3 separate regions of the Homo sapiens genome follow, and regions 2 and 3 are each linked to region 1. The links are contacts of gene promoters, found by promoter capture Hi-C in human tissues and cell types (Jung and others, 2019). All regions are on one chromosome and are shown on one strand. The core of a region is centred on a gene start or on the middle of the fragment in contact, and the rest is flanking DNA. Distances in the headings are between cores, read along the strand shown. Region 1 holds the start of SLC26A2 (solute carrier family 26 member 2). Region 2 overlaps CSNK1A1 (casein kinase 1 alpha 1). Region 3 holds the start of LOC105378224 (a long non-coding RNA gene).

Region 1 (2,549 bases), core at 32-2,531:
GCAATGGTTTTGTAAAACTTCACTGTACTCAGCATCAATTTCTGACCTGTAAAATGGGGTAACATTACCTAACTTGCTGGTTTGTAAGGCTAACACAACTACCTACCACAGTGCCTGGCACATAGCATTTACTCAATAAACGACAGCTATTAGTCTCTGTCCCTTGCTATATCCTGCCTTGAGATTCCTGATTTTAAAGGGTCCATTCCTTTCCCACAGCTTTGGCCCTCCATTTCTTATTGATTCAATTTTCAAAAACAAAAAGTTCTGCTTAATCTAGTATTGCATATCACATTAGTTGTAGATTTCACATAAAGAACTGTTGGGGACAAGGAGAAAAGACAGGTTAACTAGAATGGGCGCCGGAAGGCAATTTAAGTTCTGAATGTTTCTAACTCACTGTGATCCCCAATCTGTGCAAGGAAGGAGCCCAGGCTGATAGTCTATGAGTTTGGAGAGCTGGGTACAAGTCCTAGCTCTGCAAAAGACTTGCTGTGTATTTTTAGGCAAGGCTCTGGGCCCTCTCTGTCTTCTCAGTGTTTCCATCCATCCAGTGAAATAATACCAACTTAGTGTGTGAGTCCGAAAGAACAGGTCCTGATTTTGTACTTAATCGGGTGTGTGATTTTTAATAACCAAGATAACCAAGCCGTCTCGCCTGTGCCGGCCTCAGTTTCCCCATCTGTCCGAGGTGGTGGTGGCTCCTATCTCCTCGATCCCTATTCCAGATATCTAGGTTCGAGACGGATCAACGAGGACTGGAAAAGCAGCGGAGTGCGTGGCACCCGGCGAGATACGGCGAGATACGCGGGATGGAGGGCGGGTGGGCAGCCGCCAGCCAGACGGGCAGGCCCGGATCACCAGGGTGCAGTGCCACTCGCCCGGCCCCGGACCACCCGGGAAATAACCTGACGCACGCCCCGCTCCACGGCGGCGACCCCTGATCTGGGATTCTACCGCGCGGGGACCCAGGCAGAATGACTCTGGGAGGGGCCCGCTGACCGCTTGGCGGCCAGCACCGCTCCCTCCCTCTTCCCTGGTCCGCTTCCCTCTTCTCACCTCTCGGGTCCGGGCCGCTGCAGGCAACCAGGCGCCGCGGCACGCGTCTTCCACCGTGGCCTGACTGAGGTGGACACCGCGGCGCCGACAGAGCTATACCTGCCTGTCCCTTTCCCCGCCCATCGCTCGGACTCCGAAGGAGGCGGGGCCCGGCTGCCGGGACCTACGGGCGCGGCGAGGACGCACCGGCGAAGAGATGCCGGAGGCAGAGCCAGTGTAAACGCCCGCGGCCGAGGCCGTCACGTGGTACTGCCGGGCGAGCGACGCTACCACCAGCCAATAACTCGGCCCAGACCGGGGAGGGTGCCGCCCTCTGACTACTCTCCTCCTCGCGATTGGCTGCCCTGGACAGAAGAGCACAAGCTGGAAGGATTCTTAGAGAGGTTCCGCCGCTGCTTCCGTGGCGTTGACTCCTCCGCGGAGAGAGCGGATGACCGGCCTCGGCGGCTAGCCTGTGGCCAGGGTGAAATAGCAGGAGAGGCGCGGAAGCGCTCTGCCCAGAGTTTTGAAGTGCTCAGCGTTTGCGATCGGCCACCTCTTTATCCAGTACTACTTGGGACCCCGTTCCCTCCCACCCGCCTTTGTAGAACGGGAAATTGAGGCCCCGAACGGGAAAAGAGCTCCTAGAATGTTAGAGGCTCTTGCCTCACTATAACTCATTCCCCATCAAAGATTCCAGTAACCGGAAGGCTAAAATGTAAATTAAAAGGCCGGGCGCAGCGGCTCACGCTTGTAATCCCAGCACTTTGGGGGACCGAGTAGGGAGGATCGCTTGAACCCAGGGGTTCGAGATCAACCTGGGCAGTATAGCCGAACCTTGTCTCTATAAAACATAAAATGTAAATTAAAATGTAATTGTAGTTTTTGTTAAAATCCTTAGTGGGTTTAATGGCATTTGTAGGTAAAATCAAACCCTCCCTATGCCAAGGTACTGTGTGCTTCGGGCACTCATCTCTGCCCCCCTCCCTCGCTGATCTCCACCCATACTGGCCCCCTTTGCTCGCCACGCTTGTTCTCTTTAGGGACCTAAACATTGGTTCTGGCCATCAGATTTCTTCTGGTCTCTCAGGTCTCAGCCAAAACACCAGCCCTCTCCATGGCGAGGCCGTCCCTGACCACCCTGTGTAAACTAGCCACAGCCAGTCACATCCTTTCAGGTCATCTTGATTTAATTATCTGCCTCGAACTGGCCACTATTGAGTATGTATTAATTTGTTCATTCCTCACCTTGTTTGTAGCTTGCATGTGCCCACTAGATGGGGGTGAAGGAGGGCCTGTGAAGGAAGCATGATTAACTTCCTTTCCTTCCCTTTCCGGTGAACGTCTTCACAGTCATTCAAGGAACTCCCTTTCTTATCTAGAGATGATCCCCAAGTTTCTGTCACCCATCAGATTCAGAGTTTCCAAAACGTCATAAGCTGTCTTGGGAATCAGAACACAAACACTTGGGTTCTACTCCTGATGCTGCCCCTTGTGGCTGAAGACAAATC
Region 2 (2,549 bases), core at 27-2,526, 440 kb after region 1:
TTGTAATATCCTCTCTTCTCCTTTTGTTTCGTTAGGTGGTATGGTCAGGAAAAAGACTACAATGTACTAGTCATGGATCTTCTGGGACCTAGCCTCGAAGACCTCTTCAATTTCTGTTCAAGAAGGTTCACAATGAAAACTGTACTTATGTTAGCTGACCAGGTATGTGAAATTTTGATTAGAATATAAACTGAGACTAGTACTGTTGACTGGAATTTCATTATTCATAAATCAGAGTATTAAAATCCTGTGCATCACTATTTAACCTTAGCATAGGCAGAAAAAAAATAATAATGTGACTTGTAGATATTTTCCTATGGGAATAAGACAAAACCTGGAATTATCTTGGTTTCTTACTCATCTGTAGACTAGTAGTTTTCAATCTGCTCCTTCAGATGAAGTTTTAGTGTCATATGTAGCAGGTTATTGTAAGATTTTGTTTGGAGAGTTTAGAGTGTATGTATGCATATAATTGTTGATAAATGTTTATTGACATTTTGGTTAAATTAAGCAAAATTGAATATTATGTATTATGTGTGGGACTCTTAGAAAAGCTATATTTTTGAGGATAAAAAGGTCCTGAAGTAATATAAGGAAGAATTTTTTGACCAAGTAGATGCTGCTTGGAGTAATGGATTCTCAACCATTTGTGTTACTTAAGACCTAGGAAATTTTGGTGATGTCATGAATTAGATTGATGCATTGGCTGTAGGTTAGATTAAATGGTTTTTACAGCCAAAGTTTGGATATTTCGATCTTAAGAAATGAGAAAGATGAGTAAGGAACAAACCTTAAGGGAAAAGATAATACATTAAGGTAATGATTGGTAAATATCAAGACATGTATAATTTTTTGTTTTGATCAGTATTTGTTACCTTTAAGGGCAGGAAAATGCTGGAAATGCTTTAAGTTAAACTCAGTGTGCTTATAAAAATACTATGAAGAGAATGACATTTAAAAATATAATGGAGGGTTTGTGACAGCTCTCTAGTCCAGATTTGCCTATCACATAAAAAGGAAGAGGGAAAATAACAGAAGAAAATAAAATGAGGAAAAGGGAAAGGAGAACACAGGTTATTTGTTTTATCACTTACCTTTATTTACTTTATCACTTACCTTTTAATACTATTATTTATGTATTACCCAAAGCATCACTGTGAGCTTCTTTCAAGTAAATGTCATAAAGTAAAATGAGATAAACAGACATGGTATTTGAGGTGGAATTTTAGTAAGTTTGTAAATTCAGAGGGATGAAGAGAAGTAGGTTAATGGGCACAAAAATACAGTTAGGAGGAATAAGTTCTAGTATTACATAGTATAGTAGGGAAATTATAGTTAACAATAGCTTATCGTTTATTTCAAAATAGCTAGAAGAGTAGAATTGTAATGTTCCTAACACAAAATATAAATGTTTGAAGTAATGGATATCCCAACTACCCTGATTTGATAATTACACATTGTATACATGTAACAAAATATCACACATACCCCATAAATATATACAACTATTATAGATCAATGAAAAAACTTTGTCTATAATTCCAAGGATTAGAAAGTAGTGCCCATTTTCTGTAATCAGCACCTGATACTCCCCAAGCTTCTTAACCTTAAAAGTACTCAGTGGCTCAAGCAAATGTGAGCAAATTGTGATATTTGTGGCACAAAACAAACTCAAGCATTAAAAGGTTAAAAGTGGCGCGGCACACTGGCTCACGCCTGTAATCCAGCACTTTGGGAGACCAAGACACGAGGATCTCTTGAGCCCAGGAGTTCCAGGCTACAGTGAGCTATAATAATGCCACTGCACTCCAGCCTGAGCAATAGAGCAAAGACCCCATCTCTTTTATGTTAACAGCCTTTAATGTGGGCTGGGTTTGGTGGCTCATGCCTACAGTCCCAGCACTTTTGAGAGGCCAAGGCCGGTAAATCACCTGAGGTCAGGAGTTCGAGACCAGCCTGGCCAACATAGTGAAACCCATCTCTACTAAAAGTACAAAAATTAGCCAGGCGTGGTGGCTGACACCTGTAATCCCAGCTACCCGGGAGGCTGAGGCATGAGAATCACATGAACCCAGGAGGTGGAGATTGCAGTGAGCCGAGATCGCACCACTGCACTCCAGCCTGGGGGATAGAACGAGACTCTGTCTCAAAAAAAAAAAAAGCCTTTAATATGTTTTAACTAACATATATGAGTGAATCCTAATAAAAGAGTTATGGCTTATGTTTTTGTTTGTTCAGTAACACGTAAGCATCCATACATTGAACATGTATTGAGAGCCTACCACTGTACTTAGTGCTGGGGGTTGGGGTGGCAAAAAAATAAGAATTAGTCTCTTCCCTCTAGAAAGAAACTTAGAGTCTAATAAAGAAAGATGGAAAAATAAGATGTTCCATCCTTGTTGTAGAGTTGTAGAAGTCTCTGTTGGGTACACGGGTAACAAATGTGAAAAAATATAATTCTGAGGAAGGGAGATACAAGAAAGCTTTCATTTAAGGTAGTTGACACCTAAGTCTTGCTCTGTGGTTGACAGGTAACAGGTGTAAGTTGT
Region 3 (2,549 bases), core at 14-2,513, 260 kb after region 1:
ATAAATTTGAAAGGATTGAAATCATATATAGTATGTTCTCTAATAACAATGGAGTGAAATTAGAAATCAATGACAGAAATAAATTTGGGAAATTCACAAATATGTGGAAATTAAACAACACACTCCTAAAGAATCATTGAATTAAAAAAAATTCCAAGGCAAATTAGGAAAATCTTTTCAATGAATAAAAATGAAGACAAAATATATCAAAACACTTGGGATACAGCCAAATCAGTGCTTAGAGGGAAATTTACACCTACATTACAAAAAAGAAGAAAGATCTCTAATCAATAATCTTAAGACTGGAAAAAAAGCAGAGTAAACTAAACCTAGAACAAGCAGAAGAAATGAAATAATAAAGTTTAGAGCCAAAATTAATGAAATAGATGATAGAAAAATATCAAGAAAATCAAGGAAATTAAAAGTTGGTTATTCAACAAGATTAACAAAATTGACAAACCTTAATCTAGATGGATCAAGAAAAAAAGAGAGAAGATTCAAATTGTTAAAATCAGGAATGAAAAAGGGGGGATTATTACAGACCTTATATAAATAAAATGGATTATAAAGGATTACTATAAACAACTGTATGCCAACAAGTTAGATAATTTACATGAAATGGACAAATTCCTGGAAAGCCATAAAGTAGTAAAACTGTTTCAGGAAGAAATAGAACATCTGAATGACTTGAAACAAGTAAAAAGACGGAATTAGTAATCAAAAAACTACCCACAGAGAAAAGACCAGGACCAGAATTCACTAGTACATTCTACCAAATTTTTGAAGAATTCCTCACAAACTTCCAAAAAATAGAAGAGGAGGAAACACTTCCCACCTTATCCTGTGAAGCCAGTATTACTATGATACAAAAATCAGACCAAAACATCACACAAAAAGCACAGATCAATTTCATTTATGAATGTAGACAGAAAAATCTCAACAAAATACTAGTAAGCAGAACACAGCAATTTATCAGAAGAATTAGACACCATGACCAACTGGTAAATGTCCCAGAAATGCAAGATTAACATCTGAAATGTCAATTAATGTAATACACTTTGTCAATACAATAAAGGACAAAAACCACATGATCATTTCAATAGACGCGGAAAAAGCATTTGACAAAATTCAACACTTCTTCATAATAATAATAATAAAACTCAACAAAATAGGAATAGAAGGGAATATCCTTAACCTAGTAGAGGGCATCTATAAAAAGCCCACAACTAAATCATACTCAATGGTGAAAGACCAAGTGCTTCCCCCAAGACCAGGAACAAGATGATACCTATTCCCCCCTTTTCTATTCAACATTGTACTTGAGTTTCCTGCCGGGGCAATTAGGCAAGAAAATAAAATAAAAGGCACCCAGAATGGAAAGGAAGAGATAAAGCTATCTCTACTTAATTCACGTTTCGGACCAGTATCTCTTTGTCATGGTGGACATGAATTAATTCATTACAGCACACTTACTAATTGCCTTAAGAGATGCGACGTTTTGCACTGCGGACATAGAGATGAACCAACCAGTTGTGGGGCCTGCCCTTAAGCAGCTTCTAGACAGCTTGGGGAGATGAGGCCAACCAACATCTGTAAAATAAGGTGGAAAGTGACCAGAGTTACGTGCGGGCCCAGACGAGGAGAGTCTATTGGAGCTCAGAGGAAAGTTGAGGGGGTCACTTCTAGATAGGGCTGGATCAAGGGAGGCTTCTAGAGTTGGAGCATCAGAGCTGGGCCTTAAATGTTGGAGAGGATTTCATTAAGTTAACAGCATAACAAGAGCAAGGTTGCTCTTCCTAAAGGCCCACAGCATATTCAAGCACCAGGAACCCCAGAGTAGCTGCAGTGGGTAGTGAGTGAGGGAGAGCTGGGAGATGGTCTGTACAGGTGAACTGAAGCCTAGAATACCACACTAAGCGCTGAGGCTTCCGGCTGGAGTGAGGAAGCCTTGCATGGTGTTTGAGCACAGAGGAGACCTGGGCAGACACCACTGGGATAGGCATAGTCCTATGCTTCCTTCAAAAACTTGCTAGATGATAACATCTTCCGGAAAGCTTAATAAAATGGAGATCCCAGGCTCGGGTACAGGAAATGTCGATTGAGTCATTCTGGGAAGTGGTGTTGGGTGGCTGGGTGATGATAGCAGAGGGATAAGTCTGGTTTTGATCTGTGTTTCTCATATCAGGGCTGACCAAGCCTCACCTCATTCGGTCTAAGTCCTCTGTCCACTATGCGTGAAAACTTACGTCCTTCCGCTGTGTCGGGGGAGGGGTGGGAGATAAACAGAGCACCGGGATATTTCTGTGGTGTGATGCATAGGTGGGTCAATGGGGAAATGGCTCCTACCCTTGGTGACCCTAACCCCAGTGAACCCAGCCCAACACTCATGGGACGGTGGTCATTCCCTCTCTCCCTCCAGCCTTGTGGGTGCTGGAGAGAGGCAGCCTGGCCAACTGGGATGAACTTTGGCTTAGTGTTATCACTTTTCCTGAGAAACCCAAAGTGGCCAAGCAATTCAAAGGTCTTTTATGACCAGGAGAACAAAAGTC

Evidence for each region. The method cuts DNA at HindIII sites, captures the fragments that hold promoters and counts their contacts. A contact is called where the count stands out against the background at its distance.
Region 2: a fragment that was not itself captured here is called in contact with the fragment with the promoter of SLC26A2 in region 1 in 1 of the 25 tissues and cell types used here (hippocampus).
Region 3: a contact is called between a fragment that was not itself captured here and the fragment with the promoter of SLC26A2 in region 1, in 1 of the 25 tissues and cell types used here (mesenchymal stem cells).

Annotation. Positions count from the first base shown.
Region 1 is chr5:149,959,490-149,962,038 of GRCh38, reverse strand. It overlaps SLC26A2 (solute carrier family 26 member 2), which reads right to left and starts at 1,281. Exons shown (of 3, transcript NM_000112.4): 1 at 1,060-1,281. RefSeq lists a silencer at 1,226-1,345 and enhancers at 2,386-2,465, 2,262-2,549. The HindIII fragment of the contact is 6,337 bases long and covers 1-2,549 here.
Region 2 is chr5:149,522,658-149,525,206 of GRCh38, reverse strand. It overlaps CSNK1A1 (casein kinase 1 alpha 1), which reads left to right. Exons shown (of 10, transcript NM_001892.6): 3 at 36-162. Among named protein-coding and RNA genes, the nearest start is that of CSNK1A1, 28 kb to the left of the region's middle. RefSeq lists an enhancer at 1,566-1,735. The HindIII fragment of the contact is 4,187 bases long and covers 1-2,549 here.
Region 3 is chr5:149,702,986-149,705,534 of GRCh38, reverse strand. LOC105378224 (a long non-coding RNA gene) reads right to left here and starts at 2,418. Exons shown (of 3, transcript XR_944405.3): 1 at 2,203-2,418; 2 at 1,474-1,590. The HindIII fragment of the contact is 5,156 bases long and covers 1-2,549 here.